6 separate regions of the Homo sapiens genome follow, and all the other regions are linked to region 3. The links are contacts of gene promoters, found by promoter capture Hi-C in blood cells and fetal thymus (Javierre and others, 2016). All regions are on one chromosome and are shown on one strand. The core of a region is centred on a gene start or on the middle of the fragment in contact, and the rest is flanking DNA. Distances in the headings are between cores, read along the strand shown. Region 1 overlaps ABCC2 (ATP binding cassette subfamily C member 2). Region 2 has its middle 20 kb from the start of ABCC2. Region 3 holds the start of ERLIN1 (ER lipid raft associated 1). Region 4 has its middle 54 kb from the start of DNMBP-AS1. Region 5 overlaps ABCC2 (ATP binding cassette subfamily C member 2). Region 6 overlaps ABCC2 (ATP binding cassette subfamily C member 2).

The links. Contacts are between HindIII fragments. The CHiCAGO score rates a contact against its expected background, and 5 or more counts as called.
Region 1: a contact is called between a fragment that was not itself captured here and the fragment with the promoter of ERLIN1 in region 3, in 1 of 17 cell types (endothelial precursors). The highest score is 5.1, in endothelial precursors.
Region 2: a contact is called between a fragment that was not itself captured here and the fragment with the promoter of ERLIN1 in region 3, in 1 of 17 cell types (M2 macrophages). The highest score is 5.5, in M2 macrophages.
Region 4: a contact is called between a fragment that was not itself captured here and the fragment with the promoter of ERLIN1 in region 3, in 1 of 17 cell types (endothelial precursors). The highest score is 5.3, in endothelial precursors.
Region 5: a contact is called between a fragment that was not itself captured here and the fragment with the promoter of ERLIN1 in region 3, in 3 of 17 cell types (endothelial precursors, fetal thymus and megakaryocytes). The highest score is 9.9, in endothelial precursors.
Region 6: a contact is called between a fragment that was not itself captured here and the fragment with the promoter of ERLIN1 in region 3, in 2 of 17 cell types (fetal thymus and endothelial precursors). The highest score is 6.6, in fetal thymus.

What each region holds. Positions count from the first base shown.
Region 1 is chr10:99,798,138-99,802,392 of GRCh38, reverse strand. ABCC2 (ATP binding cassette subfamily C member 2) reads right to left here. Exons shown (of 32, transcript NM_000392.5): 8 at 3,023-3,186; 9 at 1,830-2,007. Among named protein-coding and RNA genes, the nearest start is that of ABCC2, 18 kb to the right of the region's middle. The HindIII fragment of the contact is 2,993 bases long and covers 1,231-4,223 here.
Region 2 is chr10:99,760,477-99,764,887 of GRCh38, reverse strand. No RefSeq gene overlaps it. Among named protein-coding and RNA genes, the nearest start is that of ABCC2, 20 kb to the left of the region's middle. RefSeq lists a silencer at 3,489-3,689. The HindIII fragment of the contact is 6,331 bases long and covers 1-4,411 here.
Region 3 is chr10:100,183,184-100,187,589 of GRCh38, reverse strand. It overlaps ERLIN1 (ER lipid raft associated 1), which reads left to right and starts at 1,561. Exons shown (of 11, transcript NM_006459.4): 1 at 1,561-2,076; 2 at 3,753-3,834. The coding sequence starts at 1,964. It also overlaps a transcript of CHUK not described here. RefSeq lists an enhancer at 1,194-1,343 and a silencer at 1,514-1,663. The HindIII fragment of the contact is 3,606 bases long and covers 1-2,479 here.
Region 4 is chr10:99,870,916-99,875,525 of GRCh38, reverse strand. No RefSeq gene overlaps it. Among named protein-coding and RNA genes, the nearest start is that of DNMBP-AS1, 54 kb to the left of the region's middle. The HindIII fragment of the contact is 1,074 bases long and covers 1,481-2,554 here.
Region 5 is chr10:99,832,858-99,837,509 of GRCh38, reverse strand. ABCC2 (ATP binding cassette subfamily C member 2) reads right to left here. Exons shown (of 32, transcript NM_000392.5): 24 at 2,975-3,130; 25 at 1,220-1,419. Among named protein-coding and RNA genes, the nearest start is that of ABCC2, 53 kb to the right of the region's middle. RefSeq lists an enhancer at 2,344-3,543. The HindIII fragment of the contact is 2,011 bases long and covers 713-2,723 here.
Region 6 is chr10:99,849,945-99,854,440 of GRCh38, reverse strand. It overlaps ABCC2 (ATP binding cassette subfamily C member 2), which reads right to left. Exons shown (of 32, transcript NM_000392.5): 31 at 3,645-3,839; 32 at 1,847-2,939. The coding sequence ends at 2,810. Among named protein-coding and RNA genes, the nearest start is that of ABCC2, 70 kb to the right of the region's middle. RefSeq lists a silencer at 4,055-4,349 and an enhancer at 3,895-4,496. The HindIII fragment of the contact is 3,592 bases long and covers 1-3,295 here.

The sequences.
Region 1 (4,255 bases), core at 1,478-3,977, 390 kb after region 3:
GTTTGCAGGCATTGAAATTATCTAAGCCTGATTTTTCTCTGTAAAATAGGTATAATGTACTTATTTCACAGGGCAATAGCCCTGTGAATTGATAATGAATGTAAAAAATGTTTCATAAGTAGTGAAGCATTGTCTAAACATATAAATTAGTAATTTTCTTCCACTCTTCTAATAGCGATATTTATTTGAATAAAAGTGTCATTGAGGGTTCTATTTTATAAATCTCTTTATTAATTGTAATAGTTGCAAAACCTGGAATATTAAGAACCAAAATAGTGCGAATGAATAATCACAATTATGAAAAAATTGTAGAAGTGTACTTTACTAGCAATGGCTGAGACAGGCTGGTTAGTGACCTCATAACTTGTAAACCAGCAGAAACTCAGTATCTCCAGAAGAAATAAGGAGATTTTAAAAATCAACTGGAGGAAGGCAAATTCCAGTTGGGGGGTATCTGGGAGTTCAAAGGACTTGACTAGACTTCTGATTTAAAGACACTTGGATTATCTGCCACTGTCTCTCAACGAACCAACATCTACTCAGGGAAGACAAAGACACAGTGGTGTTTCTAGAGAGGAAAGCAAAGGAGAAAAGTAGGAACTGTAATAGAGAAGTTACTATGATGGAACTTTCCAGTGATGGAAGAAAAAAAGGAAGAAAGTCAACTAGTGTTCCAACTTATAAAAAGATTGGAACCTATCTCCTCCTGGATGAATTTTCTCCTCAAGCCTGTAGTCACTGATCATAACTACTGTATTTTCATTTCTTAAGGAACAAAATGGGACTTCATCTTGGTATGGAGGACATGAGGAACATACAGTTTCCTTGAGAAAGTTAACCATTAAAAACAATGTATCGGCCAGGCGCGTTGGCTCATGCCTATAATCCCAGCACTTTGGGAGGCTGAGGTGGGCAGATCATGACGTCAGGAGATCGAGACCATCCTGGCTAACATGGTGAAACCCCATCTCTACTAAAAATACAAAAAATTAGCCGGGCGTGGTGGCACGTGCCTGTAGTCCCAGCTGCTTGGGAGGCTGAGGCAGGAGAACCGCTTGAACCCAGGAGATGGAGGTTGCAGTGAGCCAAGATTGCACCACTGCACTCCAGCCTCGGTGATAGAGCGAGACTCCATCTCAAAAACAACCAAAACAAAACAAAACAACAACAACAACAAACAATGTATCAGAGGGAAGATGAGCAAAATCATCTTAAGGAAATGAAAAAGCTTCCAGGTCTGCAGAACTCAGTAATCAGCATGAATGTATTTACAAACTGAAAAAAGAAGTCAGACAGAGGAGGTTTAGGTTAGCACTAAAGGTTAGAAAAAGAAGTTGCTAGGTGAAATTTGGTCTGGGGAGGTGGAGCTCCGGCAAGACTGCAATTTGAGATGGATACACCAGGTCTCTGAGCTGGATTTCATTAAGTATTTGAGTTAAATGTTGGTGGTTTTAAGAGTTTGACCCTTCACCAGCTTCTTTTCTGACCTTATATTCTTTTCCAAGGCATTTCACCTTGTCAAGAGAGGCAGGAAGAGATGGATGGGTAGCCAAGCCTTCAGGGCTGCAAGGTGGATCCTGAGCACCAGAACAGCTTGCAGGCTTCTCCCTGGGGAGTACGTTTTCCCTCCTGGCCTCTCCACCCATTGTCTGTGAACACACTTCTCAAAATCTAATTTCCAAAGAAACATCTAAAGGAGGCTGTATGGCCAGTCAACATTAAGTGTTGAGATAAGTTACCATTTCCATCACATTTTCCTCAACCTTGGAATCAATGCTCATATTTACTGAGGGGATTTTCTTTGGTGATACCTGCCGTATTCTGCTTACCTTCTTATATACAGAAGCCATGATAGCTGTCCGTACTTTTACACCCAGCTTGAAGCACAGTTGGAAATAACACTGAAGGCAGAAAGACTGAATGAGAGCCGCAGTGAATAAGAGGATTGCACAGAGATATCCAATCCACAAATATGTGTCACGGTCACTTGCAAAGGAGATCAGCAATCTGCCAGAGAAAAGCCAAGTTAGTTATACCCATAAGGCCTCCAAGGATGCCTCTCTCCTCATGCACAGCCAGCTAGACTACACTATCTTTACACTGTAGGTAACAAAAGTGACCAGAATTGTCCAAAGCCTTTGAAAGACCTAAGTCTACAGTTTTACCAGTGTCCTTTCTGTTTTGTTTTGTTTTTGATACAGGGTCTCACTCTGTTGCCCAGGCTGGAGTGCAGTGGCAGGATCATAGTTCATTAAGCCTCGAACTCCTGGGCTTAGGTGATCCTCCCACCTCAGCCTCCTAAATAGCTGGGTCTACAGGCATACGCCATCGCATCTAGCTAACTATTTTCTTTTGTAGAGATGGGGTCTCGTTATGTTGACCAGCCTGGTTTCTAACTCCTGGCCTGAAACAATCTTCCTGCCTCAATCTCCCAAACTGCTGAGATTACAGTCATGAGCCACCATGTCCAGCCTGGCGTTCTGGCTTTTACTTGGAGATGAGCAGCAAGAGCTTAGGGTTGATAACCCATGGCTGTGAGAATGGATAATGACAGAAATGCTCCACCTAGCTGTCACTGCAATGCTTTGGCCCTGTCTTTCCCTGCAGGTGGTTCACTCCACAGGTCATGACAGATTGTGAAGTCTTGTCAAGATTAACCTGAACCTCCCGTGGAAGGCTGCGATGGAGAGATGAAGTCAGTTACTCTCCAGGGGTATGCTACCCGCCACTTGGATCTGGCTCAGCCCTTAGCAGTTTAACAAGAAACAGCCCCTAACAATTACCCGGCCCCCTATGAGGAGACAGACATGGAAAAGAGAGAGGCTAAAGTACATATCATCATACATCTTGAAAACTGCCTGCGGTCTTCATGAACACAATGCTGTAAGGTTAAGGTGGAAGAAAATTACGAGCATTTTTAAAAAATGGGAATTTAAGAAAAGCTCCTGCTTGCATACACAGTGGCAAAAAGGAGGGTGGCAGAGGAGGCCCTGAAAGGACCATCTGAGGCCTGGAGACTCACTTCAGCAGCTGAGGACTCACAAACGTGAAGATGTCATTCACTAGCTTCAGTAGGAATGATTTCAGGAGCACCATGTAGAAAGTTTTGAACAGAGCCTTCATCAACCAGGATTTTGGAACATCTTTTTTGGTCCCAGACTTCTTTTTTTTCTTTTCAACATCTTCCTAGGTACAAAACCAAACAACAGTGTCCACAGAGTTATGTCTGTTACTGGCCTGAGCAGCTCCAGGGTGGTCAGCCTGTGAGCCCCGTGGCCTTCTCTGTACAGGTTTTGATCATCTCTCCCTGGCCTAGTTGCTTCTGCCCTTCTAGCTGCCTTCACTGTTCCACTCTCCCGCTCCTAACTGATACTTGTAATCTATTTTAGATTAGAAAACCAGGCAACTAAGCTGGTAAGAGTCCCATGTAAAAAGAGAGACCCATCTGCGTGGGGGCCTGAGGGGCAGTCCTGAGAGTGAAGGGCCTGGGCATGATGCTGAGAGGTCCTTTCTGTTCTTTTCATGCTTGTTCTTTTCATGGTTGCTGTGAGATGTTATGGGTTGAATTGTATCCCCACCCCCAAAAGCTATGTTGAAGCCCTAACCCCCAATACCTTAAAATGTGCCTTATTTCGAAAGAAGGTCTTTGCAGATGTAACCAAATTAAGATGAGGTCACTGGGGCCCTAATGCAGTATGATTGATATCTTTACAAGAAGAGAAGAGACAGACACAGAGAGAAGATGGTCCTGTGATGGTGGAGGCAGAGGTCAGAGTGATGCATCCAGAAGTTAAGGAATGCCAAGCATTGCTGGGGAACACTAGAAGGTGGAAGAGAGGATTTTCCCCTCCAGGTTTCAGCGGGAGCGAGTCTGATATCTTGACTTCAGCCTTCTGGCCTCCTGAGCTGGGGACAGTACATTTCTGTTTTAAGCTATCCAGTTGTGGTACTCTATCATGGCAGCCCTAGGAAACTAATACATGGGGCATTACGACTCAGTCACCAGCCTCTGTCTATGCTTTGGCCTCCTCATTATGTCCTCCTGAGTCTCATCTTGCCCCAAATTCCAGCTTCTCAGCCTACCAGTGATACTCTCTCACAATGTCTTTCACTGAGGTCCCATCTGATGGGTCTCCCTTGCCAGGACAACTGCCCTGGCCTCCCTTCTAGCTTCCATTCTTGCCCACAACGATCCATCCTCTGGGGAGCCGCCCAAGTAAGCTTTTCACAGCATGAATCCAGTCTCATTACTCCT
Region 2 (4,411 bases), core at 1,000-3,499, 420 kb after region 3:
GCTATGAACATTCATGTACCAAGTTTTCGTGAGGACATATGTTTTCAATTCTCTGGGAGTACATACCTAGGAGTGGAATTGCTGGGTCATATGGCAACTCTGTGTTGAACATTTTGAGTAATTCCCAGACTGTTTTACCAAGGAGTGGCACCATTTTACATTCCCATCAGTGGCATATGAAGGTTACAGTTCCTTCACATTCTATCCAACACTTGATATGGTCAGACTTTTGGCTTACAGTAATCCTAGCGGGTATGAAGTGGTATCTCATTGTGGTTTTGATTTGCATTTCCCTAATGACTAATGATGTGCATTTTTTTTTTTTTTGAGATGGAGTCTTGCTCTGTTGCCCAGGCTGTAGTGCAGTGGCGCAATCTCGGCTCACTGCAAGCTCCGCCTCCCGAATGATGTGCATTTTTTCATGTACTTGTTGGTCAGTTGTATACCTTCTTTGGAGAAATGGTTATTTTCTTTTTTTTTTTTTTTTTTTGAGACAGGGTCTCGCTCTGTCGCCCGGGCTGGAATGCAGTGGCACGATCTCGGCTCACTGTAAGCTCCGCCTCCCACGTTCACGCCATTCTCCTGCCTCAGCCTCCGGAGTAGCTGGGACCACAGGCGCCCGCCACCACGCCCGGCTAATTTTTTGTATTTTTAGTAGAGACGGGGTTTCACCATGTTAGCCAGGATGGGAAATGGTTATTGTTTATTGTTGAGTTGTAAGTGTTCTTTGCATATTCTAGATACAAGACCCCATTGTATATATGATTCGCAGATTTTCTTCCATTCTGAGGGTTGTCTTTTCACTTTATTGATGCCACTTTGAAGCATAAAAGTTTCCAACTTTGATAAAATCCAATTTATCCAATTTTTTTCTTTTGTCATTCATGCTTTTGATGTTATGTCTAAGAAGGCTTTGCCTAACCCAAAGGTCACAAAGATTTACCCGTTTTCTTCTAAAAGGTTTTTTAGTTCTTAAATTTAGGTTATGACCCTTTGAGTTAATTTTTGCATTTGGTGTAAGGTAAGGGTCCAACTTTATTCTTTTGCATGTGGATATCCAGTTGTCTAAGCATCATTTGTTAAAAAGACCATTCTTTCCCCCACTGAATTGTCTTGGAATCCTAGTCAAAAATCAATGGACTATAATGTAAGTGCTTATTTCTGGACTTTCAATTGTATCCTATTGAGCTATATAATTATCTTTATGCCAGTACTACATGGCCTTGATTACCATAGCTTTGTAGTAAGTTTTGAAATCAGGAAGTATGTCATCAAATGTTGTTCTTCTTTTTCAAGATTTTCTGGCTATCCTGGGGCATTTGCGTTTCCAGATGGATTTTAGGATCAATTTGTCAACTTTTACACAAAAAGGCAGTTGGAATTCTGCTAGCAATTACATTGACTCCGTAGATCAATTGAAGAGTGTTGGAATCTTAAAAGTAGTAAGTTTACCAATCTATGAACATGGGATGTCTTTCCATTTATTTCTTCATTGTTAAGTCTTTTAAAATTTCTTTCAACAATGTTTTGTAGTTTTCAGTATACTGTCTTACACTTTTTTTTTTTTTTTTTGAGACTGAGCCTTGCTCTGTTGCCTGGGCTGGAGTGCAGTGGTGCGATCTTGGCTCACTGCAACCTCTGCCTCCCAGGTTCAAGTGATTCTCTTTTCTTAGCCTCCCAAGTAGCTGGGATTACAGGTGCCCACCACCACACCTGGCTAATTTTTGTATTTTTAATACAGACAGAGTTTCACCATGTTGGCCAGACTGGTCTGGAACTCCTGACCTCACATCATCCACCCGTCGCGGCCTCCCAGAGTGCTGGGGTTACAGGTGTGAGCCACTGCATCTGGCCTGTCTTACGCTTCTTTGATTACATTTATTCCTAAGCATTTTATCTTTTTGATGCTATTATAAACTGAACTTTTATTAACTGCATTTTAGGATTGTTTGTTGCTAGTGTAAAGCAATACAATTTATTTCATATACTGATCTTTCCGAGAGTAGGAAAACTCAAAGTGTTTTTTCTATTCTCACAACAATCAACACAGAGGACTTTTATGACCAAATGTGGGGAGTGAGGGTCTCCCTGACACACACCAAGCAAGCAATCACTTCTGCAGCAGACACCAGCTCGGTGTACTCTAATTCAATCTCAACATTATCTACCTGAAGATAGCATCAGATCCCACAGGTTGAGGGCTCAGTCCCCAAGACTGTCCCCCAACTTCCCACTCCTCACCAGCCAACTTCCAACATCAATTGCAAGCCCCAGATTATTTTGCCTGTGCTTGTCACCGACCAACTATAAATCTGAATTCCCACAACCCCCTCCTCAGGTTTGATTGATTTGTTGGAGTAGCTAACGGAACTCAGGGAAACATGTTTAATACAATAAACATGTTTATTATAGTTTTTTTTTTTTTTTTTTTTTTGATACAGAGTCACTCCATCACCCAGGCTGGAGTGCAATGGCGCGATCTCAGCTTTCTGCAACCTCCACCTCCCAGGTTCAAACTATTCTCCTATCTCAGCCTCCTGAGTGGCTGTGATTATAGGTGCGTGCCACCACACTTGGCTAATTTTTTTTACTTTTTAAATTTTTACTAGAGACGGGGTTTTGCCATGTTAGCCAGGCTGGTCTTGAACTCCTGATCTCAAGTGATCCACCCGCCTTGGCCTCCCAAAGTGCTGGGATTGCAGGCATGAGCCACCATGCCCAGCCTACAGGGGCTTTTTTTTTTCTTTTCAACTTGTACTCTTCAGGGGATACATGTGCAGATTTGTTACAAAGATATATTGCAAGACGCTGAGGTTTGGAGTATCACTAAACCCATCACCCAGGTAGTTGGCATAGTACCCAATAGGTAGTTTTTCAGCCCTTCCCTCTTTCCTTCTCTCCCCACTCTAGTAGTCCTCAGTGTCTATTGCTCCCGTCTTTGTCCATATGTAGCCAATGTTTCGCTCCCACTTATAAGTGAGAACATGGGGTATTTGGTTTTCTGTCTGCATCAGTTTGCCACAAAAAAATGCCACAAAACACATTTATCAGTAAGGAAAAAATGCCACAAAACACATTAGTAAGGAAGAGAATCGAGCATCAAGATTTAAGGCAGAAAGGGAAAAGCTAACTCTACTGTTTTGTGCAAATGCAGTCAGGTTTATTATTAGGACAGCCCTTGTCTATATAGCAGCTAACCCCTGAGCCTTCAAAGGAAAAGATAAACACCAGCTGCCAGTCTTTTGACTGTACAAGAGGGCCTGGACAATCAGAACCCTTTTTCTGGATTGGTCCAATCAATGATGTTGTGGTTAGGATATACTGGCACCAGGCTTCTTGTACAGGCTGCAGAACTGTGAGCCAAATAAAATTTCTTTTCAAGTTACAAAGCCTCAGGCATTTATAGCAACACAAATGAACTAAGGAAGACAACTGGTACCAAGGAGAGGGTGGTTGCTATAAAGATACTTGAAAATGTGGAAGTGGCTTTGGAACTGGGTAATGGGCAAAAGTTGGAAGAGTTTAGAAGGCTCAGAAGAAAACAGGAAGATAAGGGAAAGTTTGGGATTTATTAGACTGTGTGAGCGGTTGTGGCCAAAGTGCTGACAGAAATACAGACAGTAAAGGCCACGCCTTTCTAAGCAGCAAAGCGTTCAATAAGTGGTGAGGCCAGGCATGGTGGCTCATGCCTGTAATCCCAGCACTTTGGGAGGCTGAGGCAGGAGGATCATTTGAGCCCAGGAGTTTGAGACCAGCCTAGGCAACACAGTGAGTCCTCCAACTTTACATTTTTTTTTCTTTAATTAGCTGGGTGTGGTGGTATGTGCCTGTAGTTCCAGCTACTGGGAGGCTGAGGTGGGAGGATCATTTCATCCCAGGAGATCAAGGCTGCAGTGAGTCATAATCCTGCCACTGCTCCAGCCTGGGTGACAGAGCAAGACCCTGTCTCCAAAAAAAACAAAGTGTGGCTGCTTCTAACAACCTACAATCAAATATGTGAACAAAGGAATGACCTAAAGTCAGAACTTAAAAGCAGAGAATAAAAATTTAGCGAATTTGAAGCCTGGCCGTGTGGTAGAGAAGGAAAGGGCATTTTCAGGAGAGGAATCCAAGAATATTGGATTAGCCGAGTCCAATCACTTGCTAGAGAGATTAGCAATGATAAAAGGGAGCCAGGTGTCAGAACAATGAGAAAAAGGCTATGAAGCCATTTCAGAAATCTTCAAGGCTACCCCTCTTATCAAAGGCCTAGAGGCCTAGGAGGATGGAATAGTTTGAGGGACAATCCCAGGTGCTGCTGCTGTGTGGCTCCTGCCTCAGGATGCTGCTCCCTGCATCCCAGCTCTTCTGGCTCCAGCCTCTCTGGAGGATGTAGGCTATAAGCCTTGGTAACTTCCGTGTTAAGTCTGCA
Region 3 (4,406 bases), core at 312-2,811:
ATTGTATACATTTCATTCTTTAAGCAATATTATGAAAAACTTCAGAGAATGTCTACAGAAAACAGGGTATGGAGCAAGTTATTTTCCATTCTTTTTGCTTTTTGGAAGTTAAAATAGCTAAGCTCTGCAAATATCATTTATTTGGAACAGATAAGGTCCCAGACATTCCTAGATAATAAAAATCAAATGAATGATACAGGTAAGTGTATTTATTGAAGGGTGTGGGTAGAGTGGTCTGGGAAGTCTTGCTTTAATGAAGACGGATTGATTCTATTTACCTCTTCTTACTTCCACTACTAAGTAACCCTGGGCCTGCAGTTTCCTAACCACTTGACTTCCTTGCCAACAGTCTGTCTCCACTTTCAGCCGTTTTATAGATTCATTGGCCCTAAAGCACTGCTTTCCCATACTTCCCTACCCAAGAGGGCAGGGGTCCCCAAGCCCTGGGCCGCGGACCGGAACCAGACAGTGGCCTGTTAGGAACCAAGCCGGATAGCAGGAGGTGAGCGGCGGGCGAGTGAGCATTATCGCCTTGAGCTCTGCCTGCTGTCAGATTAGCGAGTGGCATCAGATTCTCATAGGCACGCGAACCCTATTGTGAACTGCACATGTGAGGTTTGCCGGCTCCCTGTGAGAATCTAATGCCTGATGATCTGAAGTGGAACAGTTTCATCCCCAACCCACACACACCCCCACCCCGTCCGCTGGGTTAGAGGACTTTACAACCCTAGTCCACCTTGTCCAGTTATAGTTCCACCTCTAGCCTTTCAAGGCTTAAACCATTAATGTCCTTAATTTCTCTTGTATTCATCTATCTCCCAACTATACCTTTTTCCTTCCCTTTTTTATTTTTGGCAATATGTGCCCATGGTTTTTTAATTTAAAACGAACAGAATATGTAGTGACGCCTACCATAGCACTCCTTCCCATCACACAAGCCTTCAAGGAAACTGAAGTACTTACTTTGGTCTCCCTGGAGGATTCCCTCCGCCTCCCGCCCCATGTGCTTAGCAATTCTGTTCCTGTAGTCTGGATGGCCTTCATAAAGCCCTCACTGGACCAGCATTCTGGCACATAATAGGAACACTTAAAAAACGAGAGAATGATGCCGTTATATCTAATATCTTCCTCTTCTGAACTTTCACAGCACTTTATTTGCAACAAGTTTAGTTGCTCCTGAAGGGCAGGATCTCTGCCGGAAGCAAGTGCGTGCCACACAGTGGGGCTCCGCATACACTGCAAAAGGACAAATAAACCGAACAGCTACCGTTTGAGAGTGAGCGAGTGGGTTCTCTGCACAAGAACAAACCAACCAGTCCCTTGTCCGAAAGGGCGTCTCCTTTTCTCTGCTTCGCTGCTCACTCCAGACTGCGGGCTGTCCTCTTCCGAAGCAGTTAACCAGCAGTGTACAGAAAGCGACTTGCCTCCAAAGGAGCCTGCGCGGCCCGCGGCTAGGAGAATTTTGTCCCATGCGCTCCCCGTCTCACTAGCCGCGGGCCGGGGCTACGCCGTGTGCGTCCCCGCGCAGCCGCAGTGCTGGGCGAGTGGGCGGGGCCGGCTGTTGGCGGCGGTTGGCTCGGCGCGGGAGTCGGCTGCACGTGCGGGCGGGGGCGATGCGTCACTGATCGGTGAGGCGCGGCCGAGGGGTCGGCTTTCCTCGCGAGCCTGCGGCTGGGCTTCTTCTCAGTTAGTGCCTTCCACCCGGGAGCGACCCTTGGGAGAGGGAGTTTCAGGAAGCTCACCGAGCAGGGGCGGCCCACTGGCCTCCGGGGGCGGAGGAGTTGGCAAGGGGTCAGCGGGCTCAGCCAGAAGGGAAGAATGAGGGGACAGGGGTACTGGACTCCCCGGCTCAGCCTGCGAGAGAGCGCCAAGTTTCCGGAGGGAGAGGGTAGAAACTGGAGGGGGTGGACCTGTCACTCACGGGACTGAGGGTCCTTTTCTCCCGCTCCCAGGAGGAACGAGAATGAATATGACTCAAGCCCGGGTTCTGGTGGCTGCAGTGGTGGGGTTGGTGGCTGTCCTGCTCTACGCCTCCATCCACAAGATTGAGGAGGGCCATCTGGCTGTGTACTACAGGTGAGCGGCATGTGCAGTCAGTTAGGGCTCTAGAGCAGATTAAAAGGGTACTCCAGAGTGGAGTCTGGGAAGTTGTTCCCTCTGCAACGTTCGGGGGCGCATGTCCCATCTCTAGGGAGAGCACGGGGGTCGAAGCGGGCTTTTGCGGAGCACCCTCCAGATGTTGGACAGTTTTAGTGCTATGTTCGTTTTGTTGCAGAGATTAAGTCTCCCTACGGTTATTCCTATACACAGCAAACTCAATTATTTGTAGAAAAATGAAGAAGGAAGAAAGGAAGTAGTCACTCTACCTCTAACTGAAGAGATGGATAAATTATAGTTCGTTCAACTGTACAGGCTTTAGTTTGCCGCTGTAGATGCTGTATGTTTATGGTTGTTTCTTAGACTTTTTCATTTAAAAGCTTCCAGTGTCTGGTTACGTCTTGTAACACCATGATGACTGTGATGGTGCTTATGTCCCTGGACCTCCAGGGACATAAGCACAACACTGATGGGCCATGCTCCTCCCTCCTTACTGTTGCTGTTCAAGTTGGGGACAGGAGTGGTGTGGGAGCTGTTGCTCTCTTGTTGAGCTCGCTTAGCTTTTCCTTCAGCCTAATTACCACAAGTTCCTTTTGATACAGACTAGTAAGAGAGGCCAGTTTGTGGAGAAATTGGGATAATGGTGTATTCAAAAAGAGCGTCAACTTTTTGCTTGTTTCCACTATCCCTCAAAACTGATATTTCTACTTTCAAATCCATCCTGAATCCTAGAAAAAGAGCAATTTTAATGGTATATCTTAGCAGATGGAGCTCTACATAAGAAATTACAGATTAGTCCAGATTTCCTTCCAGTTTAAAAGCATTGTCTTTCTGACAGTAAAACCAGAGAAAGGACATTTCAAGGAATGACTCAAAGAATTAGTAATGAACCTCAAACAGTTCATCTTTCCTTGTTATTATGACCTTGCAAATGTGTTTATATTTTCAAGACCGGTAGCTAAGTTCTATGAATTTACAAGGTGCAAAATAGGACTTTGTTTTCTTTGCTCCCCAAATGCCTCCTTTTTATAATTTCCAGGGCTTGCTTTCATAGTTTTCACATTCCAGGATTTGGTTAACAAGCCCTTATGCTATTTATTTGTATAGTCTTGTCACCCTTCATCTTTTCATGCTAATTTTTTGTTTTTATATAGAAATTTTATGTTCCCAGTATTTTAATTACCTTGTAGATAGATCGAAAGAATTATAAGCCTCAGAAATTTTCTCTTTACTTCAAAGTTTGCATTGTCTTTTTTTCAACCTGGTGATTAAATGTATTATATATTTTGATTTGGCTCTTGTTATGTACTATTAATGTACCTCTACTGAAAGCCATTAGAATTTTTTAAACAAATATTTCTCAGAAGGTTAAAGACCGAGGAGAATCCTTTGAACCTTAGAGCAGTGCTGGAGACCCAGAGGTACGGTTGGTTGAGCTTATGAAACAAGGTGTAACATTGGCAGTTTAATTTGATCTTTTTCCCTTTTTAGGTGTGGAGGTATTTTAAGCAGTTGTTCATTATGAGCAATTCATATTAGTGAGGCTTTAGTAGGTCAGCAGCATGAGCAAGAGTGAGTATTTATTATAGCATTTTAGATTTGGAAAGATAATTTTTCTTTTTATAATTTTGTCAAATTGAAACATCTTTTTGCAGGGGAGGAGCTTTACTAACTAGCCCCAGTGGACCAGGCTATCATATCATGTTGCCTTTCATTACTACGTTCAGATCTGTGCAGGTGAGTGATTCCTAGGGGAAGCCTCCATACCAGATAGACAGGCATGACAGGAGTTACCACACTTGTGGGTGGAGATAGATTTCCTTATTGCTTAAGCAGATGGTGGTATTTACTTAAATGCAGAAGTTAACGTTCAGAGTACAGTTGTTACAACACAAGTTATGATGTTAAACCACCTCACTTACTTGAAATGAATTAAAGGTATGAACCAGGAAGCTTGGAAGGACTGACTTCTACCATCTATATCGTGGTATATAGCAAATTTTCTGTTGCTGCTGTCACAATAAAAGTAAGAATTAGAAACACAACTAGACATACAAACCAGTGATTATGTGGTTTAGAACAGTGTTTAGTTTCCATAGAGGCAGGCTCCTGGGCTACTGTTAACATGGAGGATCAAAATTTTTATACACAGCCTTTCTGCCTCATGTTTTTTTGCCTGGTATATTAAGCACAATTTTATGTGGAACCTTAGTGAATGTTATATTTTGATGGCATCCCGGGATATTTGAAATAAGTGTCTAATCCTCGAAAAGTGTCTTGGCCATGGGAGACAATAAAATAAGTATCTT
Region 4 (4,610 bases), core at 768-3,267, 310 kb after region 3:
GTTTGTTTAAGCTGAACGTTTTTCCTGGGCTTCTGGGGAGGCCTTCTTGACAATGAGTGATGTCCAGATCTGGGAGAATGGGAGAGGCTAACTGAAGAAATGCAGGCCCAAAGTCATTCTGTCAAAGATTCCAACAATCTCTATATACTCAGGCCGAGTGTGGTGGCTCACACCTGTAATCCCACCAGCACTTTGGGAGGCCAAGGTGGGCGGATCACTTGAGGCCAAGAGTTTGAGACCAGCCTGGCCAACATGGTGAAACCCCATCCCTACTGAAAATACAAAAATTAGCCGGGCATGGTGCTGCATGCCAATAGTCCTGGCTAATCAAGTGGCTGAGAATTGCTTGAACCTGGGTGGCAGAGGTTGCAGTGAGCCAAGATCACACCACTGTACCCTAGCCCGGGCGATAGCAAGACCCTGTCTCAAAAAAAAAAAAAAAAAAAATCTCTGTATACTCAAAATATGTCCATGCTGCAGGTGACTGCCTCTATTTTCATCTTGTCCTGTGAAATTCTAACGAAACAGAAGAGCTGGGATCTCTAGGGGATAAGTATTTCCCTGATATTGCAGATGTGGACACTGATACACAAGGTTATCTAACAAGGTCACGGAGCAGCAGCTCAGGCAGTTGGGGGCAGGGAAGGAAGTGGCAGGGCTAGTGGCAGAGGTGGGATTGAGGACAGTATGGTGGGTGACAGTAAAGCGATCACCCAGTGTTGTTAAGGAATAGAAATCACTGAATTGGGTAGGCTGCAGGAAAGCAGCTGATAAGTCACCTATGCTACTCTCATGTGATAGACTAGGAAAATGGGGTCCAGAGACATTCGTACTCACCCAAGTCATATATCAAGTTTTTGAGGGGTTGTGAATTGAAACTCGGGCCTGCAGGCTCAGGCTGAGTCTGTACACCTTGTTCTGGAGCCAGACTGTCTGGCTTCTGACACTTGGCAGCTTTGTGACCTTGGCAACGTACCCACCTCTGTCTCAGTTCCCTGGTTGAGGTAGAGATAGTAATAGCATCCACCTTGTAGAGTTGATAGGAAGATTCCGTGAGTTAATACATGCACCATGCTGCAACAGGACAGCTGCGAGATACTGGAGGAGGACTTTCAGTGCTTGTCCCCCCATGGAAACATCTTAAACTATCTGTGCATGAAAATACCCTAAGCGCTAAGAAAACCATGTGAGAGATGACAGCACCTGGGTGTTGCATGCAAATATTAAGAAAAGATGCATTGGAGAGGGCAGGGAGGACATGTTCACAGGACCTGTGCCAACCCCTCCCTCAGCCGCAGGCAGCGCAGCACACATCGGAACACCCTCTGCATGGGGGGAAGAGAGGGAAGCGAGTCCCAGATTCAACCTTGGACCTCAGCACTACCCCAGTAAAACCCAGTGCCCAGCAGGTCCTCACAGCCCCAGACTCCAGGCTGGTAGCTGCACACTTGCCCCCAGGCCTGCCTGTAGCATAGAAGCTTCACGAGAATGCCTGAGACCACTGTGGACACTCATGTGACTAACATTTGCTCAAGGCAACACACCTGCCCATTCTTGATAGAGGAGTAGTAAGGGCCTAGGATTACAAGCCCTTACTATTCTAGATAACCTATCTATGTATCTAGGATATATGGATCCCAGGTTTCTAGCTTAGGAGACAGCAGAGAAGTGATGGGTGCCAATGGACCATCCAGCCGGAAAGGGGAAAAAATACATGCAAAGCATTTCAGCAGGCTTGGTGCTTACTACTGAGTTCACTGTGGGTCAAATCATTGACCCCTTATGTTCCCCTCTTGATTCAAGCCACGAGGAAGAAGAACCCGGAAATACAGTCCTGGATGGAGTTTGTGTCTTGTAGGAGCTGGTTGTTACCAGCTTGTACCCACTGCTCCCACAGCACCCTCTCCACCCAAAGCACCCACCGTCAAATTACCCTTCCAGCTCTGCAGATCCAGCAGGAGGTTAGCGTGAAGGAATCACATCAGATATAGGTAAGAAAAAGATTCAGCCACTGTCCTCTTGCCTTACTGTCCTATCTCAACATCTCTATGCATCCAGAACACTTTCTTAAAGCACAAAACCTACTTCAAAGCCATGAAGAGTAGTACAGACCTTTACGGAAGATTTCTTGTGGGTATGAAAGACGACAACCCCACCTATGACATCTAAGGCAGAACTTTCTGGAAATATTGCTTTTCAACATCGACACAAGACTTCTACTTCTTCCGGCATCAGTCCAACTCTCCCTCAATATTCCTCTCCGCCCATTTTTCTACTGCCGAGCTTTCCCCTCTTCCTCCCTGTCCCCTACTCCCCTTTTTAAGTCAAATGACTGAGTTCTTGCACTGGCATCTACCCCAAGTGCCAGCATCATCACACCAGAACAAAGGCCTCATGGCCACACAGTGCAAACAAACAGAAGACTCTCAGAATATGAGGGAATGGCCAGACGTTTCTACTTAGTTATTTTGTATTATATATGATGCTAATATGAGTGCCTTGGTTCCAAGGAACATCCCATGGCACACAATGTCCTCAAGAGAGTCTGTAAGCTTTCTGGGAAGCTCAGGGTTCTGTCCAAAATAGCATCTTCCACTCACTGAGCCACGCACTGTGCCAAGGCTTACCCTGCATTATCCTATGTCACCCCCTACCCCCGCCCAACAAAAGAACACTACAAGGTGTGTAGAAGTAACAAAACTGATGCTCAGAGCCCAGCAGGTTGAGGCTGCAGGAAGCCGTGATCACACCACTGCACTCCAGCCTGGACAGCAGAGTGAGACCGTCTCAAAAACAGAATGACTCATGCTCAGAGGATAAGAAACTCAACCAGGTTTACCCAGATAGAAATAGTAAGACTCAGATTTCAATCCCAGCCCTGAGAGCAAAGCTCATGTATTTAACCCTTTGCTATATACCCACTTGAGAACACACCAGCTCATGTGTACAACCAAAAGGACTTTGGCCCTAAGCCATTGAATGGCCCTTCCTAGTCAGTTCTGTGGGAGCCTTCATCAAAAGAGGACACTGGCCCTTTAAAGGAAGGATTGAATAGCAGTAAGAGTCTAAGCCAGTCTCCATTGCTTTAGGTCAATGTGGAAACAACACATAACCTTCAACTCTCCTCCAGGGCCTGGTCTACATAGAGCTGTCTGGAGTCCTGCCCTGGCTGCCTCTGTTCCTGAACCTTTGGATTTCTTGGAATTCTAATCCTCTAAATCCAGTCTTTTGACTGAACCATTTGGAAATTGAGGCCTGCATGGCAGTAGGGAGTACCCTCACCCCCAGAGGTAACAACTCTTTAGGAAATTTCCAAAATACACCTAGTACCAGTAAATAACCTGCCTGGTTCCCTAATCTTTCCTTCACCATGTAGAGGCTTCTGGATAATTTTGGTCCTCAGTTCACTATTGGGAGTCTTCTATAGCATCTGCTCCAAGTTAAGAAGATTCGCACACTGATCCTAAAATTCATATGGAAACGCAAGGGACCCAGAGTAGCCAAAACAATCTTGAAAAAAGGAACAAGATATAAAACTACAATAAGTAAGACTATGTGAGACTGACATAAGATAGACATAGATTGAGGGTCTAAAACTTTGGCCAGGCACAGCAGGTCACACCTATAACCCCAACACTTTGTGAGGCTGAGGTAGAAGGATTGCTTGAGCCCAGAATTCGAGACCAACCTAGGCAACATGGTGAAATTCCATTTCTACAAAAATACAAAACTTAGTTGGGCATGGTGGTGCACACCTGTAATTCCAGCTACTTGAGAGGCGAAGTAGGAAGATTATTTGAGCCTGGGAGGTTGGGGCTGCAGTGAACAGTGAACATGCTACTGCACTCCAGCCTGGTGACAGCGTGAGACCTCGTCTCAAAAAACATAAAAATAAACCTTTACATGTATTGTCAAATATGAATTGACCAAGGTGTCAGAACAACTTAATGGGGAAACAACCATCTTTTGCACAGATGGTGCCAGGACAACTGGATATCCACATGCAGGAGAATGAAGTTAGACCGCTTCCTAAACCACACACGAAAATTCACTCCAAATGGAGCATAGACCTAAATGTAAGAGTTAGAACTACACAATTCTTAAAATGGGAAAAAGTTCTCACAACCTTGGATTAGGCTTTAGTTTCTTCAAATGACAACAAAAGTGACCAAAAAAAAAAAAAAACCAGATAAATTAGACCTCATCAAAATGGAAAACTTTTGTGCTTATAATGCCATTGGCCAGGCATGATGGCTCACACCTATAACCGCAGCACCTTGGGAGGCCAAGGCAGGATTTCTTGAGCCCAGGAATCTGAGACCAGCCTGGGCAACACAGGTAGAACTCGTCTCTACAAAAAATTTTTTTCAATTAGCCAGGCATGGTGGTGTAGTCCCAGCTACTTGGGAAGCTGAGGTGGGAGGATTGCTTGAGCCCAGGACGTAGCAACTGCAGTGAGCCATGATTGTGCCACTGCACTCCAGCCTGGGTGACAGAGCAAGACCCCATCTAAAAACAACCAAACAAAACAAGAAACACACTATCAAAGTGAAAAGACAACCCACAGAATAAGAAAAATATATTTCAACTCATACGTCTGATAAGAGAAT
Region 5 (4,652 bases), core at 469-2,968, 350 kb after region 3:
CACCCAAGAATTATCAATAAAAAAATAAATTTAAAAAAAAAAAAAAAAAGAAAAAAAAGAATGGACTTTCCCAGGCCAGCTGTGGTGGCTCACGACTGTAATCCCAGCACTGTGGCAGGCCAAGGTGGGCAGATCACCTGAGATCAGGAGTTCAAGACCAGCCTGACCAACACGGAGAAACCCCGTCTCTACTAAAAATAAAAAAAATTAGCTGGGCGTGGTGGTGCATGCCTGTAATCCCAGCTACTTGGGAGGCTGAGGCAGGAGAATTGCTTGAACCCAGGAGGCAGAGGTTGTTGTGAGCTGAGATTGCACCATTGCACTCCAGCCTGGGCAACAAGAGGGAAACTCCATCAAAAAAAAAAAAAAAAAGGACTTTCTCAAAGAAAATGTATTTAAATGTCTGCACCAATAATTCCAGCATGTGTATGAATAAATATGATATGTCCTTTACAGTGAAGGTCTAATAAGATTTACTTATATGCCTTTTCCTTCTTAGAAAGTCTCTAAGAAATAAAATATCTTTACAATCAAACTCCTGACCTGTCCACATTCCAAATAATGCTGAGCATCTTTAGCGCCTCAAGACACTTTGGAAGCCACTCAAGAATTTTTCTTCCTGAAAAAGATCTTCCTCTTTCCAGGACATACTGCTTGCCAGGGCTTAAGGATACTGGAGAATAATGCTCACCCTGTTCACAAGACGGAAGCTTCCCTTTCTGTCATCAATGGTCTTACCTAAAAATTCCCAACTCTCCTCTCTCCAACCTCCACTGCCTTCACTACCCAGAAAGAGTGTCATGACTATGGAGAATCTCACATCCGTTCTCAGAAAAGTAAACAGAGGATGTTCAGTTCACCCAGCACTTATTTGGTACTGGGTTACAAAATGCTCACAAATGTCATTTGACTTCCACCATGAGACAGGTGGAACCCTGTGAGATAGGGTGTGTTCTGGCCATTACAAAAACAAAGAAATGGAGATTCTCCTTAGAGAAGTCAAGGCAATTCACCCAGCTTGGTAAACGGCAGAGCTGTCATGGGGACCCAGTCTCTGACTCCAAAGCTCATGCTTTCTTCTCTCCACTTACATAGCATGACAGTGTGTGTGGCCAGAGTGAATTTCACACCACTAGCCATGCCTGCCCTCCCACCGCTAATATCAAACATATAGAACCCCAAAGTACACACATGGGTAAATACCCAGGGGAAGCCTCACCTGTTGGAGGTGATCCAGGAAAAGACACATTTCTGGTTGGTGTCAATCCTCACCTCATTGTGTTTCAGAAATCGCTGCTGGTGCTCAAAGGCACGGATAACTGGCAAACCTGATACGGTCTCGCTGAAGTGAGAGTAGATTGGGGACCTGGTGACAGAGTCCAGACGCCTCAGCTGGCGGGAGGTAGACACATAAAACATCTGGACACAAAAAGTAAAGAATCAGCCAGTCCCGCAGTCATGAGGCATCCACCATCTTCCTCCTTTCTGGCCACAACCCAGCATTCTTCCCCTTGATGGGCACAGCTTACGTCTGAACAAGACAAAAGCCTGCAGTGCCATGTCTGGGAGCAGAATGATGAGAGGCTCCGAGGAGGAGACCAATGAGAAGACTGGGGTTGGTGGGGAACAGAGTGGGGTGAACGTGAGGAGAGCACACTGCAGCCTCAGAGCTTTGAGTCTCCAAACCTCCTAAGGAGTTCCGTCAGCCTAACCCATATCCCCCAGATCTACGGCTATCATCCATGTGACAGTTTCTGTACTCATTAGAGAAAAGGTCCCCAAAAGGATTTTGTAAAGGCAGTGGGGCCCGTGGGGTGTGTAAAGTGGGGATGGGCAGGAAATGGCCAGAAAAAGGCATGCCTAGGTTTGGGTAAAAAGGGAAGAATCTGTTCAATTAAGTGACCAAAACTGTGCCTCGGTGGTGTGTGAAGGTACAGAGAATTCTGGAGGTATGCAGAGTGCTGAGGGGGTAAGAACTGGAACAGGGTAGAATCCAATGCAGGGAAGAACCCTGTGGCCTGAGGGCAAGGGGGAGTGGAATGGGTCCGTGCTGCTACTAGATTCTGTGAGGATTTGTTGAAACCTGGGAAGAGTGGGGCGTTGGAGAGACGGGATGCAAAATGTTATACATGGACATACAGATGTTCCCTCCAATAACCCTGCTTCTTGTTTGTTGGCTTGTTATTAATAGTTAAAAGGCCGCTATGGTGACAATGTGCCTGAGGAACTGTACACGGACATGGGGGCGAGCCGCCAATCGCAGGCCACAAGGCCACGAGCCCCTGATCAGTGTCTTCAGAATTGTTTCCCCAGGCAAACAATTCACCACAAAAGCAGCTGGTGGGACCAGAGTTCCTCCACAGCCTCCCCTTCCCTCATCCATTTTATTGTGGGAATAGGGTTCCTTCCACTCGTTCCAGTTTCCCTGTTTTGCTTTCAAGCTGCACATTCCCTCGAAGAATACACTGGAATTGAGCCTAAACCACCCACAGACACCCCAGTGAAACTAGAACTTTGCCGAAGTAAAAAGAAAGACCCAGCTGCTGCTGAGAGACATCTCCAAGCAGCTATGCCTGTCCAAAGTCAACCAAGGAAGCACCATAGCATGGCTCTTCTGGAACCGACCTAATCGTCATGGGGGTTCTTATGGAGCTGCAAGACTGTGTCCAGAGCCAATCTCAAAGTAGTCTTGGATCCAAACGTAAATCTGTCCGACCTAAGCTTCCAGGGAGTGAAGGGTGGGCAGCAGTTAGGGTGACATTTGCCATAAATGGTGCACCCATTGATGCTCTCACTTCAGCTTCAGACAGTGGCCTGTGGGCTCCTGGGTATGTCAACATATGACTAAATGGCAAAGCTGCTGAGGGGAGGAGTGAGTGACTAGCAATGAATCAGAGAGAAGATTCTCAGGAAAGAGGCTGGGCTTTTATAGATAGAGAGGAAGGAAGGATGACTTAGCCATTTCCAAACCTACCTGAACAGATACATAAATAATGCCAAGAGGAATGACGATGATGGTGAAGACAGGAGTGGCCATGCAGATCATGACAAGGGTGCTGATTATCCCCAGGAAGCATGTAATCCAGCTGCGCAAGGACTGAGGCAGGGTGTCATCCACTGTGGAAATATCCTAGGAAAACGATTAGGAGAGATACACCATCACTGAGGTCTTCCTAAGATAGTTTACATCTTCCTAGTTCTAGCAAGGAATCTGTTGGATTCTGTGTGTTCCCAGTACTCCTTCATGTAATCATTTCATTGTGTTCATTTGCAATAGGCTGCATTGCTTGCCCCAATAACCAATTTCATTTCCATAATTTCTTCATTTAGGCCTGGCGTGGTGGTCACACCTGTAATCCCAGCACTTTGCAAGGCCGAGGCGGGTGGATCACCTGAGATCGGGAGTTCAAGACCAGCCTGACCAACATGGTGAAATCCCATCTCTACTAAAAATACTCAGGAAGTTGCTTCCTCTGCTAAGCATAGAGGACCAAGGGGAAGGGAGCTGGGGTTGAATGTGAGCCTGCCTGGACAGTGTTCTAACCAAGGAACCCAGCGGGAACAGATGTGTCTTACTGCCATGTTGCCTTCGTGTCATGTGAAATAAATGAACAAATAAGAAAAATGAATGAATGGATGGATGGTTTGGAGAACACTCAAGAAGCTTGGTTTATATTTTGGGTTGCCCTTGCCTAAATTTGTGGGGATTATATTGATTCTATGATTGGTAATATGTGAGTACCAAAGTGAGTTTAAGTTATCTCTGGAATTTCTCAAACTGTATCAGGGATAATGGTCTTCCAGGAAAGCTCTGAATCATGGATGACTCCTGAGTCTAACCTACCTTTCCCAAAGTCCTATCAGAATGCAAATAACTATACCCACAGTTGGCAGAGAAAAGAAATCCCTACCAGTTATCAGTTCTATGCAGATTACTTTTGATCCTTACCTGGCACAGAGTCTCCATCTTTCCTTCCTCCACTCCATCTCCTCTTAACTCAGCCATTGATCCCAGAGGCCCCTTGATCAAACTCCCCTTAATAGGTCTGAGCCACCTCCCCAACGAAACATACTATATAATTAATGACAGTTTCCTTTCTCATGCAAAAGCAGTCTTCAAACTATGACTGTTGCCTAAGTAACTCACAGAAAACCTCTGTGTTCTCTTTCCCAGAAGATTATATATATTACAACATGGGGAAAACTGTGATCTTTACAAAATTACTATGAGAAATTTCTCACCCAAAATTGAGTGTTCTTTTAGGTTCTAGTAAAGAGCAGAAAGGCCATTGAAGTTGTCTCTAGTGACATCATGCCCACTGTTTCTGCCCCAGAGGAAGATGACACAGGGGGACCAGTTAATGGCCCACTTTTGAAGCAGTTACTGTGTCCCCAGAACCTGGCTGTGGACTGTGAGCTATACTTTCTATGTCTGCCCCAAGACCAACAAACAAGAGTCCAGAGCTGCTCCATAAGCACAGGGCTAAAAACTGTGCTGGTGATAGTTACTTATCATTCAGAATTGCCTGATCTCTGCCTCTGTTCCTGAATTCCCATCTCAGATACACTAAAAAATCAGTGAGTTGGGTCTGGCCCATGGAAGAGAGACATCTATGATCTTCACATTCATTGAGTGCCCCAGTGTCTAGTAC
Region 6 (4,496 bases), core at 250-2,749, 330 kb after region 3:
GACCTCAGGTGATCCACCCACCTCAGCCTCCCAAAGTGCTGGGATTACAGGTGTGAGCCACAGCACCCGCCCTAGATAGCTTTTAAAAAATTTTTGGCACAGTGTCAGACATTTACTGGAAGCTAAATAAATAAGTGATGGCTGATAATCTTCAAAGTTCTCTGGTGATAACTATATCGACATCAGCCTGGACCATTTTGTTTGAGAAACAAATTGAGAAAATATCAGGCTTCTCCTTTAGTTTCACTTTTACTGTTGGTGCTTTACCTAGCTTGCATTTCTCTGGCTTCTGCAGTCAGCGTAAATAGTTCCTTTGTTTTCCAAAGTTCCTCCTGCCCCTCTAAATGCTCTATATCTAAAAACTCATTTAAGAAGCAAGTTGGAAAGTACGCGTGTATGGAATGTGCTTTCAAAATAAACACTAAAAAATAAATAAATAAATTTTAAAAACACCACTAAAAAAAAGGAAAAAGCAGTTTTTTGAAATTCTAATGATTAGAAAGAATAGATGGTAAAAACAGTAGTTAGCTACCTAGCAGTGAAATAGTTGAGAAAAAGAGATAAGGGAAGTGATGATGATGATGATGATGCTGATGATGATGACGATGATATTGGATTAAAAGAGCAATACAGACTGGAACAATCAGGAAAAAAGAACAAGGATCAATAGCAGAAATAAAGGACATGACTTAGCTCTTATAGAGCTTTACAGGTATTGTATTGTATTAATCTTAAAATGCTAATTTTTTTCCACAAATAGGATGCATTTTACCAACAATGCATACCAAAGTTTAATTGGCAGTATCCTTTCTTCGTGGTATAGAAAATAACAGGTATTTTACAGTTGATGGCATCTTAGATTAATATACACTAATCTGCAATTTACAGGAGCTACATTTCATGTACATAAGCAGGTATAGATCTGAAAAGCTAGCTGTAAAAAATAGCCAATGATTATAGAATATTCACAATGTACTAGATCTGGTTTGCAGAATTAAGGAGGGGATTCTCCATGAATAGCGCCCCCCCAGCCAACACTTCAATATCTATACAACTTTGTTGATCTCCATCCATGCTGTGATTCAAAATCGAATTCACAGGGCTATGTGTAGGAGGCACACAAGTTTATCATACAAATGAGACAATTTTTGTGCGTGTGTGAAAGGGGGAGCTATTATTGTTTTGGGAAAACAGATGTAACCCATAACTATTCAGGGCAAACCAGAGGTATGCTTACACTAGCTATATGCCCTTCATTTCAGAAGTTCAATGTTAAGCACCTCACTAAACAGACCGTGAAATGCTGAATAAATCAAAATCTTTATCATAACATCACTGAAAGGGAGGTAAGGAATATGAAGAACCCAAAAGAACCTGACACAAAGGCCCTAGGAGGTGAGGAAGGCCCAAAACTTAGGCTGGCTTCTGAAATCTCCTGCCCAGGAGATCTTAAACTCTCACTTTGTTGATAATGTAGGAGGTCAAGGCAAGAGATAAAGCCAAGGTCTGCCACAGTGCAGACTAAAACCCTCTGATGAACCTGTGTCATGAAAGGGTTATACCTGCAATGTACAGGTAAAGAGGCCTAGGTCCTGCCATGCAGAATGCAGGAGTCAACAAGAACAACAACAAAACCCCATGCCTATCTCCAACCTGTCACTTTCCCTGGAGAATTTGTAAATCACAAGCTGGCTCTTGTACAGGATTGTGGTCTGAAGTTGCACTGTGGTTTGAAACCCCTTAGTGAAGAATTTCATTCAAAGAGGTTCTGGGTAATGCCCCAGGCAGCAGGCTAAAGCATTCCCAATTCCCTTAGGAAGAATTCACGGTCAACTTAGGCCTCAAAGAATGTCCACAGATAAAGTTTTAAGGAGAACGAGCTTATAATAAAAATTCACAAGACATACAAGGAAATAAAATACCATGAGTAAAAACCAACAGAAACAACAGATAAACAAAGAATCCAGACATTGGAATTATCAGACACAATATTTAAAAAACAAGTGGAAATGCAAATGCCCCAGAAACATGAAAATATATTCATCCCCAATAGATACTAGGGAAATGCAAATGAAATTCTCATTGATACATCAATTCATATTCATCAGATTGACAGCAATGTTTTCAGTTGGCATTACCAGTTTGGCATCAGCTAGTTTGTGCATGTAAACATGTTCATACCCTCCATTCCTAGGTTATACCCTAGAGAAACTCTTACATATGTGCCAGGAGATGTAGACCAGAATGTCCATAGTAGTACTGCTTATAATTTTTAAAAACCTGAGAATAATGCTAATGATCCCCAATATTAAAACTGATACATTGTGCTGTATTCATACAATGCCAGACTACAGAGCAGTGAAAAAAAATAATGCACCTATTTGCATCACCATGGATGAATCTCAGATATAATATTGAACAAAAGAATCAAGTCATAGAAGATGTATGCAGTATGAGTCAGTCCATTTACATAAGTAAAAAAGGGTATATGTTGTTTAAAGATACATACAAAGGTGATAAAACAGAAATGAAAGGCAAAGGAATAATTATCGTGAAATTCAGGACAGTGGTTGTCCCTGGGAGGGGTGGGTAGCAAGGAAGTACGATCGAGGTAGACAATCGAGGGGTTTCTCAAGTACCTGGTGACATTTATTTTCTTAACCTGGGTAGTAGGTTCATGGGTGTTCACTTATCCTTTTTTAAAACGTACATTTTATACACACTTTTGTATGTATTCTGTATTTTATAAAAAATAAAATTAAATAAGAAATTATTCTTATAGTCCTTTTCTAACCCATGGGGCCTTCTGCTAGAATTTTGTGCTGTTCACATTCTCAATGCCAGCTTCCTTAGCCATAAAGTAAAAGGGTCCAGGGATTTGTAGCAGTTCTTCAGGGCTGCCGCACTCTATAATCTTCCCGTTGTCTAGGACCATTACCCTGAAACAAGGAAGAAAGAAATAAAAGTCTTAGAAAGCAGCATCTCAAGTCTAGGCATTTATAAGAATAACCAGGACTAAGTTGTGGTATAGTCAGACAAGGCTACAAAGCAGTGAAAATCAATGAGCCACAGCTACACACATCAACATGGATGAATTCTGCAAATAATATTGAACAAAAGAATCAAGTAATAGAAGAATACAGGCAGTATGAGTCCATTTACATGAGTTTTTAAAAGAAGTGCACATTGTTTAAGGATAGATTGGTTTACAAAGGGTGCCTATCATCTCCAAACAGCTTTCTAAGATTACTGACTTTTGATTGTAATATGACACAGCTGGAAGGAATAGAAAGCTTCTGGCTGTTTTACAGAGCAGCAGCTGAGGCTCAGGACAGTTAGGAAGGTCTATGGTCAACATCTGCCTCTCACGGCTTGAGCTTCCACCTCCCCATACCCAGTTAATTGTTACAACACACAGTTTCCTATTTTGCCCTCAAGATATGAATAGTTCCCTTAACCTTGTTCGTTTTCATTTGCGTGATGTAAAATTTTGGCCAGATTACTTGACATCTCTAAGTCTCAGTTTCTTCATCAGTAATGTGGTGGTGGTTAAACCTTCTGCCATCAGGTGTTTCCCGGCTGACACTGTTACTGTTGAGCAAGGGTTAAGCCATCCGTGTCAAGCCCTGTCCCCCTACACTCACTTGTCACTGTCCATGATGGTGTGCAGCCTGTGGGCGATGGTGATCACTGTGCAGTGGGCGAACTCGTTTTGGATGGTCGTCTGAATGAGGTTGTCTGTCTCTAGATCCACCGCAGCAGTGGCCTCATCCAGGACCAGGATCTTGGATTTCCGAAGCAGAGCCCTGCCCAGGCACAGCAGCTGCCTCTGGCCTATGCTGCAGCCAATAGAAGCAACCATGTGTTAGCTCCTAAAGACCAAGGAAAGACGCAGGGCAGGGGGACCATTTTCATGTTCCAGATCAGACTTTCAAAACCCCCCCTCCAAAATTCCCCTGGAATGTTTGGGCCTCTTCAACTAGCTGTACCTTGCTGCTGTGAGCATCGTTTTTCAAACTTTCCCAATTGAAGACCCACCCCAAGTACTTAATTAAAAAGTCATATTTCTGGGCCCTTGCTTTGCTCAATCAGAGCGGGCAGGAGCCTAGGAAGGTGCCTTTTTACTAAGCACCCCAGGCCATTTTTATGCTTAAACAAGTTTGGATAACAATGGCCCAGGAACCATGCTTTGTATTTGGTTGCCGTGACATCAACATTTCCAAAACAACATGAGTGTCACCAAGTTTACGTTAGCAGCATTTGACCTGAAGCCATTAATATAGGGTGGAGCAACACTAGAATGCCCCAGTGGCATTTCTTTGTGGCCTTAGCAAATCAATTTATTATTTTAATGTGTAATTCTAGCCTCAAGGCTAATTATTTGTTCAAGGCCTTCTGCTTTGATTAGAGATGAAGCTGTCTAATGAACGTGATGTCTTGGTGTGAGATGCAATGTATGTGGAATTCAAATATGCTTCTAAAATGCAAATAGCTTT